Linked DNA regions of Homo sapiens: all the other regions are linked to region 3. Evidence: promoter capture Hi-C in 16 types of primary human blood cells and fetal thymus (Javierre and others, 2016). All regions are on one chromosome and are shown on one strand. Each heading gives the region's core, a stretch centred on a gene start or on the middle of the fragment in contact. The rest is flanking DNA. Distances are from core to core; before and after follow the strand shown. Region 1 has its middle 10 kb from the start of CHURC1-FNTB. Region 2 overlaps LOC105370534 (a long non-coding RNA gene). Region 3 holds the start of PPP1R36 (protein phosphatase 1 regulatory subunit 36).

What was found. The method cuts DNA at HindIII sites, captures the fragments that hold promoters and counts their contacts. A CHiCAGO score of 5 or more calls a contact.
Region 1: a fragment that was not itself captured here is called in contact with the fragment with the promoter of PPP1R36 in region 3 in 1 of 17 cell types (M1 macrophages); the score reaches 5.8 in M1 macrophages.
Region 2: a contact is called between a fragment that was not itself captured here and the fragment with the promoter of PPP1R36 in region 3, in 1 of 17 cell types (M1 macrophages). The highest score is 5.1, in M1 macrophages.

What each region holds. Positions count from the first base shown.
Region 1 is chr14:64,902,240-64,906,576 of GRCh38, reverse strand. No RefSeq gene overlaps it. Among named protein-coding and RNA genes, the nearest start is that of CHURC1-FNTB, 10 kb to the left of the region's middle. The HindIII fragment of the contact is 251 bases long and covers 2,269-2,519 here.
Region 2 is chr14:64,879,322-64,883,624 of GRCh38, reverse strand. It overlaps LOC105370534 (a long non-coding RNA gene), which reads left to right. Exons shown (of 3, transcript XR_943942.3): 3 at 2,237-2,744. It overlaps SPTB (spectrin beta, erythrocytic), which reads left to right and starts at 3,718. Exons shown (of 36, transcript NM_001355436.2): 1 at 3,718-3,833. RefSeq lists silencers at 3,098-3,177, 3,248-3,387, 3,438-3,607. The HindIII fragment of the contact is 1,268 bases long and covers 674-1,941 here.
Region 3 is chr14:64,547,494-64,551,820 of GRCh38, reverse strand. PPP1R36 (protein phosphatase 1 regulatory subunit 36) reads right to left here and starts at 1,860. Exons shown (of 12, transcript NM_172365.3): 1 at 1,755-1,860; 2 at 836-900. The coding sequence starts at 1,823. RefSeq lists a silencer at 1,705-1,994. The HindIII fragment of the contact is 10,629 bases long and covers 1-4,327 here.

The sequences.
Region 1 (4,337 bases), core at 1,145-3,644, 350 kb before region 3:
TATCTCTACTAAAAATACAAAAAATTAGCAGGGCATGGTGGCGTGTGCCTGTAATCCCAGCTACTCAGGAGGCTGAGGCAGGAGAATCACTTGAACCTGGTAGGTGGAAGTTGCAGTGAGCCGACATTGTGCCATTGCTCCAGCCTGGGCGAGACAGCGAGGCTCCGTCTCAAAAAAAAAAGAACTAATAAGAAAGTGCATAGCAAGGTTTGAGAGAACTGAGGTATATTATTAAGCAACTACAGTAGACAGCGCCAAGAACGTAACAATTATCATAAATCTCAGTATGTCACTGCTTTAAAAGCTCCATGATTCCCTATTGCCCTCAGGATAAAGACCAAATTCCTTCCTACAGCACCCACGACTTTTTAAAAGTTGGCCCAGTCTACTTCTGTAGCCCCGTGTCCTGCTGCTCCCTACCTCCCTTCCTGCTGTCATCCCACATTTCCTGTTTCTAACCTCACCAATTCCTCATGGCCCTCACCACACCAAAGTCCTCTTTCTAGCTTTTTGTGTGCTGCTCCTTCTGCCCAGAATAGCCCTTTGTCTCCTTATTGAATTCATATTCAGGTTCTCAGACATGGCTCAAACATCACCTCCTCCATAAAGATTGCCTATTAGTATCCCTTTCCAAGTACCTACAATAACAGTTTATTAATTCCCCTATTATAGTATGCGCAGTCAGCTCTTGACTGCAAACTTGAGAATCATGCTTGTTTCCCAGGATTTAGCATTATACCTGACACATAAGTGCTCAGTAAGTGTTTTTTGATTGATTACAAAAGCTGAACACACAGTTTCACCCTTCCCACCACCTTACTCCAAATTCCATAGCCAAAGGCAGTTACCATTCCACCTGTCTCATCTGGATTTTGCTCTGTTCACTCCAGGTCTTTGCTTTCAATGGTTTTGAAATTTGAGAAAGAAAACAAACAAACAAAAATTAGGAGAGTTTTGGTTAGAGAATAATACCTTTTGTTCTAATAAATTACCAATAAATTAATTGCTAAATCATGTCTTCATTCTGTGCCCACCAGAGGAAAGATTCTGCCTAAGACATGGATGACTCAACAAGAAGGACATGCCCTAATATCATCCAATTTAACACCTCCTTGTTCTCTAGGAAATGACCTATAAACTTAGCAGTTTGTTACTTCATTCCTGGAAGTTTAGCAACAGCCTCCTGACTTCAATTGGTTCTTTTTTTTTTTTTTTTTTGAGACGGAGTTTCACTCTTGTTGCTCAGGCTGGAGTCCAATGGCGCAATCTCGGCTCACTGCAACCTCTGCTTCCCAGGTTCAAGCGATTCTCCTGCCTCAGCCTCCCAAGTAGCTAGGATTACAGGCATGTGCCACCACACCGGTCTAATTTTTTACATTTAGTAGAGATGGGGTTTCACCATGGTGGTCAGGCTGGTCTTGAACTCCTGACCTCAGGTGATCCACCTGCCTCAGCCTCCCAAAGTGTTGGGATTACAGGTGTGAGCCATCACACCCGGCCTTCAATTGGTTCTATACACTATTTTATGTATCTCTTTTATAAATAATTGGATCCAGCTGGGTGTGATGGCTCATGCCTGTAATCCCAGCATTTTGGGAGGCCAAGGCAGGAGGATCACTTGAGCTCAGAAGTTCAGGACTAGCCTGGGCAACATGGCAAGACTCCGTCTTTACAAAAAATACAAAAATTAACTGGGCGGTGGGTGTGGGGGCGTGTGCCTGTAATCCCAGCTACTTGGGAGGCTGAGGTGGGAGGATCACTTGAGCCTTGGAGGTCGATACTGCAGCGAGCTTTGATTGCACCATTGCACTCCAGCCTGGAAAACAGAGACCTTGCCTCTAAATACATACATACATACATACATACATACATACATACATACATACATACTGGTTTTTGTCAACTTGGGCTGAAGGAAGGTAGTGACCCTTCACAGGCAAGGTGTCTACATCAGAGAGCATTTCATTTCAAAATTCAGAATGGTGCTCAAAATGTAAATATACCTGGAAGAAGTAATATGATGATATTAAAGCTCAGGAATTCAATTTCACTCATATAATGTTTGGGGTATCTGCCTCATGCCCACCTTTCACAGTCAGGGGGCAAGGCAAGAAAAACCAGTGATCACAATACAGTGTAATAACTGCTCTTCGGGATGCTCCTGGGGCCCAGATAAAGGGCAGCCTGGGAGAGGTCAGAGAGAGGAGAGGACACAGTCTCAGCAATGATTTTCCAGAAGTGTTGATCCCTCCGCAGACTCTTTAAGCTTAGACATTAGGGAATGTTGGGCAGGGTGTTCCCCCGACACAAGGACCAACATGTGCAAAAGTGCAGAAATGCTGAGAAACAAGTTTGTAAGGGGTGGTACATAGGGGAGGTTGCATTGATCTAAGTAATGTCACATCCTTTCATGAAGAGGATAAAGTTTTGACCCTTTAGTCAGGGGATATTGGCTTCATAGTTATGCCTCGGCCCAGCGCTTATGAAGGTTGTATAATGGATTTTAAATTGCTCAAGCTTCTTCCTACCATATACCAGGATCACATTTTCTACCAAAGTGGTGGTATGGAGACATACAAATGTGGACTCGCAGCCCGGCTCTGTGACTTATTAGCCGTGATGAAACACTGTGGGAAAGGTACTAACTTCTCTGTTCCCTTTCCCTCATTTGCAAAATGGGAATGCACCTTCTTCATGGAGTTGCTGTGAGAATTAAAGGAGAGAATCCACATTACACACGGTCTGACATATGTATTAAGTATTCCATAAATGTTAGCTATGATGAAGATGATTCCAATGGACCTAATAAAGATGTAAGAACAAGTGGCTAGTAATCAAGGGATGGTAATTAACTGCAACCGAATCCCAGAGTTAAGAAAAGTCTTAAGAAGTCACTTAATATACTCCTTTGCATCTAAGATCAATGCTTAAATCAACACTGTTCGACCCTACCTGCCACCAAGGGCTCTAACTATACTCAAGGAAAGATTGGGAGTAGAGGGAAAGGGTGAAAGAAAATCACAAGTAGAAAGAAGGGAATGAGAGATAAAGGGAAAAGGAAGCGGAATGATAGGACAAATGAGATAGAAAATACACTTTCGTGGCACATCTACTATTTAAGTTGCCTATTCCTGACTTCAATCTTCCAAGGCAAGTGATGACTTCATTCAAGTTAAAAAGAACCAAAGGAAGAACTGGGAACTCCAAGAGGTCAATATATCCAATAATTCCAGAGAAGTCCAGGTATTAAAAGATCATAAGTAGAAGGAAGTGTTAAGAGTCATCTTTTATCTTTTTTTTTTTTTTTTTTTTTTTGAGATGGAGTTTCACTCTTTTGCTCAGGCTGGAGTGCAGTGGCATGATCTCGGCTTATTGCAACCTCTGCCTCCCAGGTTCAAGCAATTCTCCTGCCTCAGCCTCCCAAGTAGCTGGGATTATAGATGTGGGCCACCACGCCCAGCTAATTTTTGTATTTTTAGTAGAGACAGGGTTTTGCCATGTTGGCCAGGCTGGTCTCGAACTCCTGACCTCAGGTGATTCGCCCGCCTCAGTCTCCTAAAGTGCTAGGATTACAGATGTGAGCCACCGCACCTGGCCATCTTTTATCTTTTCTAATGAGCCGTATGTGTGTGTGTGTGTGTGTGTGTGTGTGTGTGTGTGTGTGATGTTCCCTCACTGTTGCCCAAACTGGAGTGCAGTGGCGTGATCTCGGCACACTGCAACTTCTGCCTCCCGGGCTCAAGCCATCCTCCAGCCTTAGCCTCCTGAGTAGCTAGGATTACAGGTGCACACCACTTTGCCTGGCTAATTGTTGTTGTTGTTGTTGTTGTTGTTGTTTTTAGTAGAGACAAGTTCTCATTACGTTGCTCAGACTCTAAGAAGCTCTTTATCAAACTTGAGAATATTTAGAGAATCTCTAGACAGATTATTGTGCGTATTAAGACTACTGATGTTATGAGGGGCTCGGAGACTCTCGCAGATACAAGCAAAAATGCTAGACCAGACATTTACAGGTGAAATCTCTCTCTGAGAACCAAATTTTAGAGGAGTAGTCAAAGGGAAACATCCTTATATCATCCATGTACAAATCAATGAATGCTACTATCATCACCTATTTGGTAGGAGGAATTTTAAAAAGGCCCAAGCTGTCAGTAGTTTGAACAAAATGGTGTTCCCTTCTGGGGCTTTTCAACATCGACTCACACGCCCATGTGATTCTGACCTGCTACTCTTTTGTTGCATTATTTTGTTAAGTGTTTACTCCTGAGAGATGATTCTGTCCTAATTATCTCTTACCCACATGTCTTTCGTTTTTTAGTTTGTGTTCTAGTTCATTT
Region 2 (4,303 bases), core at 58-2,557, 330 kb before region 3:
TCCTTCTATTAGTTGGGTTTGGTGCTTCTCTTTCATGGTATTGGTTCCCCTCTCCCCATAAGATATTTGGTGGTTGTCCTATCATCCCTTAATGTGGGAATGGGCTTGTCTCCTCTTTCTGCTTATCATAGCCTATCTTCAGGGGCTGTGAAGAAGGGTCAGGACATGCTATCCCAAGAGAGTGAATGGTTTCTGTCATTTCTTGGGGTCACTAGATCCCTGAGCTCTGCCCCTTGGGTCCCAGGATCCCCATTAACTTTTTTTTTAAGTCCTGCAGGCAAACACCTGATATTTAATGTGAGCAGGACAGAGGAGGCTCCTAAGTGAATTATTCTGTCTCAGGGCCCCTCCTCCTCTTGTATCCTTTAACTATTGCTTGCAACTTCCCTAAACTATTGCTCCTCCTGAATCTGTTTTGGTTTCCTCTGATTTTGTTTCTCTGTGAATCAGATCTTGCATCTTTTCTGTATCTCTGGATTTCTTGAACATTGTTGGAACACTGATCCCCTTTTCCTTATTTTCCTGTGCTTTTAGATGCCTGTTTCAGACATATCTTCTAATGAAATTTGGGGTAGAAGAGAAGCTAAATGCGTGTATTCAATCCACCATCTCCATCCAATCTTTACTTTTTAATTTATTTATCATCTCTACTTATTATTAAACAATACAAGCTTATTGTGAAAAACTCAAAGACTACAGAAATGGAAAGTGAAAGTTCCCTCTTATGTTAGATGATTCTAACATAAGTCTCAACTTATATCTTCTTGGCCTCACCTGTTGGTTTCAGCTAGACCTGAGTAGACAGTTCTGTGAAGGTTTACCCCCCACTCTCTGGCTGTCAACATCTATTCTCAAATGCACACCTTCTCTTCTGGCCCCAGAACTCTTCCAAATCTGCAGACTGCCTATGTGGAGCTTGCTGGGTAGCTCGGAAGTGTAGGTTTTCAACATGGGTGGGAGACCAGTGGGGGCAGTCCTTTGTCCAACCAGGATGAGGGTTAATCTCCTATCCTTCACATAGACAATTCCAAGAGGTATTCTATACTCTTCTGAGGAGGTCCCTCCAGACGTGATCCCTATTGCCCACAATGATGACCTTGATAACGAACATATGTATGTGTTTCCTTCTCCCTTCTTTTTTTTTTTTTTTTTTTGAAACAGAGTCTTGCTTTGTCACCCAGGTGGGAGTGCAGTGGCGTGATCTTGGCTCACTGCAGCCTATGCCTCCCAGGTTCAAGTGATTCTCCTGCCTCAGCTTCCCAAGTAGCTGGGATTACAGGTGCGCACCACCACACCCAGCTAATTTTTGTGTTTTTAGTAGAGATAGGGTTTTGCCATGTTGGCCAGGCTTGTCTTGAACTCCTGACCTCAAGTGATCCGCCTGCCTCGGCCTCCCAAAGTACTGGGATTACAGGTGTGAGTCACCATGCCCAACCTTTCTCCCTTCTTTTATTCTCCCAATTTCTCATTCCTGGCCACAGAGATCTGTTCCCCTTTCCCTATTATTTGACAATGCCCTTTCCTCACTGCAAGCCTAAATTTCCTCTCTTCCTCAGTTCTGATTTATCATTTCACTGTAACTCTATTAGCTGTAAAGCATTTGGGGATGCTGTCAGGATAACATGCTCTGTAGCAAATGAGGTTGTATTGAATTATTTAGCTTTCAGCTAAAGTGGAGATAACTAAAGCAGCTGAGCTGGTTTGTAAAATGTTGGGGTAATCTGTCTGCTGATTTGGAGTTTTATCATATTAATTTTTTCTTATGGTTGAAAATTATAAATTTTAAGGCTACAAAGAAAAATATGTATGCAACTATTCAGTTCAGTGCCACAGACCTATAGCTAAGGAATTATCTGGCTTGCATAGTATATAATTACGTAGCTGCAGAACCACCATTCTAGAGAACCATGAATTTATCTAATAAGTTTATTCATACAAGCTTTTAAAAAACCATAAATACATAATTTCCCTCCATTTTTTTCTAACAAAAATAGATGAAGGATTTCTTCTTGAGATATATAATAGTCTCAGCTTTTGAAGTTGGCCTGTTTTTCTTGAGCTTTCCTTGCCAGAATTTGACTTTTAAACATTTTTTTTCACAAAACAGAACTTTCTCTTTTTAACTCAGTAATAGAAAAATGCATTCTTAAATGTTGTCAACAAAGGGGAGGAGGGGATCACTGCGAATCTATCGATGACCATGAATGTTTTTGTATCCTCTTTCCCATATTACTAGTGTCTCTTGGAAAATTGAGCTGTAATAAGGATCCAGCCAAGAGGAGGGTGGAGTGAAGAATTCTGTGGCTCTGTAATACCTGGGGCGTTTGTCCCACTCAGCACATCTCAGTGTCTAAATACCCACCCTCAAGAAGTGGGACTGCAGCAGGAAGTGAAGTATCTTTGCATATGTTCAATATATAAACTAAACTCGAACATCTGGCAAACACCCCTTTCCTGGGTGAATTCTGGAAAACAGCACAATTATAATCCCAAGCAAATAACTCAGGAGTAAGACTGTTCCCTTGTTAAGAACACCAGGCAGCATCAGTAAAAGTTAAAACTTCTTCTGCATCTATGCGCTTTTAATCTCCACGGCCATTTCCATAATACCTGAGATTACCTGCGTTGATAGCTGGTGAGAAATCATCCCAGGCACCGCAGGTGGAGAAAAGAGATGAAAGCTACCTCAAGGCGTACACGTAAACCTTACTGAACAATGACCTTGATCGTTAGAAAGTCAAGAAAATGTACTGCCTTGCAAGCTGCCGGTGTTCTATTGAGTTTCTCTCCGGGGGCAACTCGGAGATGCCTTTTTGGCACCATCGGTTCTAGTATTTCCTCTGGCCTGCTGCGCCGCGCCTCATCCAGGCTTGTAGTGAGGCACCCCCACTCGCCCGGAGACCCGGGCCGGCCAGGAGGTGCCAGTGGGCAGGTGTGGCAGCCTGCCTGTTGATTACAGTCCCTACAATGTGCGAGCTCCTTGGGACTGCAGGCTGCGCGCCGCCAGCTTTGCCTGGTTCGTCCTGATTACACTAGGTTTTCGGGCAGAAACAGCGACACTGAGCTCGGGCTGGGGGTGGGGCCCTCGGGCCCAGTGCCCGCCCCCTGCCCTCCCACCGCCAGCCGAGAGAAGCCCGCCCGGGAGCGCGCTTTCTAATGCACCAGCCCCCGGGAACAATCTGTCCCTCCCAAACCCGCCACGGCGGGGGTTCACCTCCCGGGTACCCGCCGCGCCCACCCTATGGCCTAAATGTCTTTTCATATATTTTAAAAACTGAACTGTGTGCAGTGGGGATGCAGGGCGGGAAAGGCTGGAGGGCTCATTTTCGCCACCAGGCTTGCCTCTCCGGGCGCACGAATTAGGCCCGAGCTAGAGTCCAACCCCCTTCCCGCCTCAGGGGGCTCGGGGTGGCGCGGGGTTAGGGGCAATGAACGACGATGGAGGCGCCCCAGGCTCAGCGGCGGGCGGGGAGGCAGAGGCGGGTTCCAGGAGCCGGGCTGAGGCCCGGCAGGTGCCCCCAGGCGCGGAGGCTGATTGGCAGGTGCGTGAGTGGGTGGGGAAGGCGGGGGCTGGGCTTGGCGCTGCGGGAGGCTGCGGCCCCGCCTCCCCGCCCCCGCCGCGGGACTATCTGGTCCCGGCAGCAGCGATGTCCCCCGGCAGGAATGTCCCTCCTCAGATAATGTTATTTATATCTCTGGGCGGGTCCGCGGCTCGGCAGCACCAGGCGCCCGGCGGCCGCTGTGCCAGGAGCCCCGCGCTGCCCTCCTCCCCCTGCGCCGCCGCCGCCGCCACCCCCGGGCTCGGGGTGGCCCCCGCTTCAGTCCCAGGGCAGGTGAGTCCCAGGAGGGCCCGGCGGCCAAGGGAGCTGGGTGCGGGTGCGCAAGGCTGGGACGCGCGGCGCCAGCTCAAAGGAGCGCTGGGCCCAGGGGGCGCCTGACGCGCAGGGCCCAGAGGACCGGGTGGGAGTCCAGCCCCGGTTGTCGGGCGTGGGGTGGGAGGGGTGCGGGGCCCGGGAAGCCCGGCAGCTGCGGCAAAGATCATCCCGGGACGCGGGAACGCGCGCGGGCGTCCGAGGCACTTGGTGCTAGCTTTGGAGAGCGGGATCCCGGAGAGTCCGTCACCCCGGGGCGCAGGGAGAGGGTGACGGGGGTGCGTGTTCTCGTCCGCCTTCTCCAGGACCCCGGCCTGGGAGCGAAGGGGATTGCGCCTCTAGCCCGTCCGACCGCAGCGCTGCTCTCTGCCTTTTTTTGTCCGGCTTCTCAGCCTTGTGGCCGCTCATATCCCTCTTCTGGGGAACTTGGC
Region 3 (4,327 bases), core at 611-3,110:
AGAGACCTGAGGATGAATAAGATAGTTCCTGCCACTGAGGAGCTTACTGTCTAGTTGAGGGAGACAGCGAGTACATGAAAAGGGCTTTAGCATTAGACAAATCTTGGTTCAAACTATCAGTTCTGCTACTTACTGGCTGTATGACTTTGGTTCAGTTGCTTAATCTCCCTGAGCCTTGTTTCTTCATCTATAAAATGAGGACATTAATGTTCACTTTCCACAGTTGTTTTAAGAATTGGAAAAATATGCAAATATCTGGCACACAATCAGTGCACAACAGATAGTGTCTAGTATTAATTTAGCTATACACTTGTAAGAGTCAGTGTCTTTTTTCATAGAGATTAGAATCAGTTTTTTCTAATTTAGTAATTTTACCTTGTGAGATTCACCATCTATTGCAGCAGATATAATATGTTCCCATTAATGTTAACTATATTTCTCTAACTCAAAAAGGCAATTTTATAATTAAAAACATGGACTCTGTAAATCAAACAGACCTACATTTAAATAATCTTAGTCACCTCTGAGCTGTGTGATTGGGCTAAGTCACTTAATTTTCCTCAAGTCGCTGAACCCTTTGAAACCTCAGTTTCTTCATCTGTAAATTGGTTAACATGCAGCTGTTTCAAAGAGTTGGTAAACATTAGCACAGTGTCTGGTCCATGTGAAGCAGCTGGTAAGCGTTCAGAGAAAGGCTGTTCACTGAAATGATTGTTTCCTTCCAGATGGCAAAGGTTCAGTGGGTATTTATTCTCTATACTCTTCTGTTGCTTTTTTTTCCCCCAGGCACATGTAATTTTTATAAAAACTCTAATAAAGTGTTGTTAAATTTTACCTTCTGAATTCAAGAGTTCTGGTTTCATCTTTCCAGTACCACATCCCTAATCGTAATCCCAACTGCTGTAAAACGAAATGATTGCAGCAAAAATAATTAAAAGCTCAATTTACAATCCATATGCCACAATAAACCTTTAACAATAATTCCTACTTACTAACACATCTTTTAAGTAATAAGAAGGAAACAAAAAACAATGGTTCCTACTAGTCCCTCTTTACACTTTCAGTAAGAGTGTAGAATCCTAAAGCGTTAAACTTGAAGCTAGGATTTTATCGCTTTGATTGATTTTAGGTGTGGCTTCAGTAGAACGGCAGGAAGGAGGGAGAGGGAGAAAGGAAGGGAGGAAAGTAGGAAAAGAGGAAAGAAGCAGCGGAGGAAGGGAAGGGCGAAAGATAGGAAGGAAATTGGGACTACATATAGCTCATCATAGCAATCTACCAATTAATTGAAATTCAGACAATAAACTGATACCCAGGACAGCCTCAGCTGTCTGGTTCTGGAGACTTCCGGGCTCCAACACTGAGCCTGCCCTTTACAGGCAGTGGCAAAAAGTTAAGTACACCCTTTTCACCGTGGAAGCTAGCACCCACCAGCCTTTCTATCCAGAGCGGGGCTGCTTCCCCCGCAGTAGGTCTCCCTATTTTGCAACCAACCAATTAGAGGTGGTGAGGTGGGATTTCGTAAATATCTAACTACCTGCGCAGGGAGCCAGAATTCAATTCTGACCATCTGTCAAATACACCAGAGTTTTTTTTTTTTCTAGGCAAATATGGCCAGGTGTCTTTGAGAACCGCCAGCCCGGGGCGAAGGCGACGACCCGCCTCTGGAGGAGGGCGAGGGGCGCGGCGCCGGTTGGGGGCAGCAGGGCCCGCCTTGCGCCCAGCCCGGGTATGGGGGCGACCAAGGCTGCACTTACATCCATCAAGTAAGGGGTCTGCCCACCTAACCGCTTCCTCCTCGCATAAAACTCGGGCACCCGGTACATGGCCTCGCCCTGGAAGCCATACGGCGTCGCCGAGGATACCGCCCGCAGGCGCCTGCACACGGCTGCCCGGGGCGCGGAGCGGGGCGGGGCGTCGCTTCCGTCCTAGGCCGCGCGGGCTGCGGCCGCACCCAGGCTTCTCCAGCGATTTCTAAAGCCCAGCCTGGTGCCCCGTTTCCCAGTCTTAAAAGCCGTGGCGACGTATTGGCCTATCCATTGTAAAGCCGCCCAGGGCATAATTCTTCATGGCATTCCAACCTTGAACTTCATGAAGTTATTCACTTTACTGTTTTAATTGGAGTAACTACATTCAGTCCTATAGGGAAGAAAGATCCATTTCTTCCTAACTTTCATGATTAGCACTATTATTAAGTTCAAATCCAGGATGAACCTAGGTTGATGGGGAGAGCAGGGTTGAGGTGGGGAAGCAGGGTAGCCTCGTGGAAGAGAACATGGGTACGGAAATAAGGTTTTCATAACAGTTGTGCTGCTTAACAAGCTGTGGAATCTAGGACAAGACTATTCTGATCTTTCTTCTGAAAACACCAAATCAGGGGTTATGTGGATTTTTGGAGTGGTGTGTGTAAAGCACCAGTCTTAAGTACTCAAAATTAGTGTTGCTCAAAAACAAAGAAACTTGCTTAGTGTCAATGGGTATTCAATTGATATTTTTACATTTACACTTTTCAAATCATGTGTCTTGTAATTCCTTCTTGCAACGGAGTTGATAATGCTGATTCTGGCTGATTTTTTTCCTCCCAGCTCTAAGTGAGCAATGCTAGATGATGCAACATGATTGGGAATGCCTAGTATATTCTTTTGTATCACCACAGCTTAATTGGTATGAGAGGCTCATAAGTAGTGGATATATACTCCCATTAACTTTTAAGTTATGTCAGTAGTCATCCCACTGCTTCTTCTATTCCCACCCTCCCAGTCTCACTACTTGGTAATACACAATCACTGGCTACAGTGATTAAATAGTAATCATCTAGATTCATGTTCTGCTCACTTGAGTCCATTCTGGCAGCTGTTCAGTTGGTCCAGGTATATGGAAACCCACTTATATACTGGCCGCAGGCAAGGCTTTCTTACTACAAGATGACACGCTTGAAAAGGAGACTATCCCATATGCCAAGAGCTTTTCACCAAGTAGCGAACATAACTTGGGGTGGACAGGACAGGGAAATAATGAGGTAAAGCTCAAGAAAAGATGCAGACAGACCAAGGAATCTGGATGGCATCCAATCACTACATAATCATTACCGGGAAGACCACACTAGTGGTCAGTAAACCTCTTCAGTTCATCCCAATAATGTGTGGAGAAGTGCTGATAGAAAACTTAAGATCTATATATCTTATCACAGAATAAACTTAGGCTGTCTAATGTACAAAACTTAGGTAAAAATAAAAGTTGAGAGCCCAAAACAATAACTACTTAAAAATTAAAGGAGAAGTTATTTCGCATGTGATAGAGGGACATAATATTTAAAGGAAAGTTTCAGTAACTCTGAAGGGACAATCTTATACTTCTCTATCACTTTACCCCAAACAAAAGGAGGAAGAAAAGATTGTTTTTACATCTCTTAATCATTACAGTACTTATTTTAAAAAGTGACCCACCGATTTCCTAAGGTACATTTTTCACCAGTTAGGTTTCTTTTTAAATGACATTAGAAACTCACAACCAAAACTGGAAATATGATTGTCCCTGTAAAGAAGAATAAACACAATTGATGATATTTAGTAGGGATGAAGGTAACTTCTAAATATTTGATAACTCCAAGTGTCCTGTGAGGGAATTTTTTTTTTTCCTAATTAAGAGAAACTTAAGGTCATATAACTATCTAAGAGCATATAATATATAACTAAATTGCTGGTCCCAGATTTTAGGTCCAAGACATTAACTGAATATAATTCATGCTAATTCTATAAAAAAGATAATGGACAGGTTTGTTTTTTTGTTTGTTTGTTTTGAGACGGAGTCTCGCTCTGTCGCCCCGGCTGGAGTGCAGTGGCATGATCTCGGCTCACTGCAAACTCCGCCTCCCGGGTTCACGCCATTCTGCCTCAGTCTCCTGAGTAGCTGGGACTACAGGAGCCCCCACCACGCCCGGCTTATTTTTTAGTAGAGACGGGGTTTCACCGTGTTAGCCAGGATGGTCTCGATCTACTGACCTCATGATCCGCCCGCCTCGGCCTCCCAAAGTGCTGGGATTACAGGCGTGAGCCACCGCGCCCGGCCAATGGACAGGTTTTTATAGTGTTGTAATTCTACCTTAAAAAATTAACTTTCCACAGAAGAAAACAGCAATGCAAAATTTTGAATTAACAACTCCATTTTTGAAAAATTATTTTTTTTTCTGACACTATACATCTGCAGATGGCAGCTCCTGTTTTTTTGTTTGTTCATTTGTTTTGTTTTGAGACAGGGTCTCACTCTGTCGCCCGGGCTGGAATACGGTAGTGCGATCTCCGCTCACTGCAACCTCCGCCTCCCGGGCTCA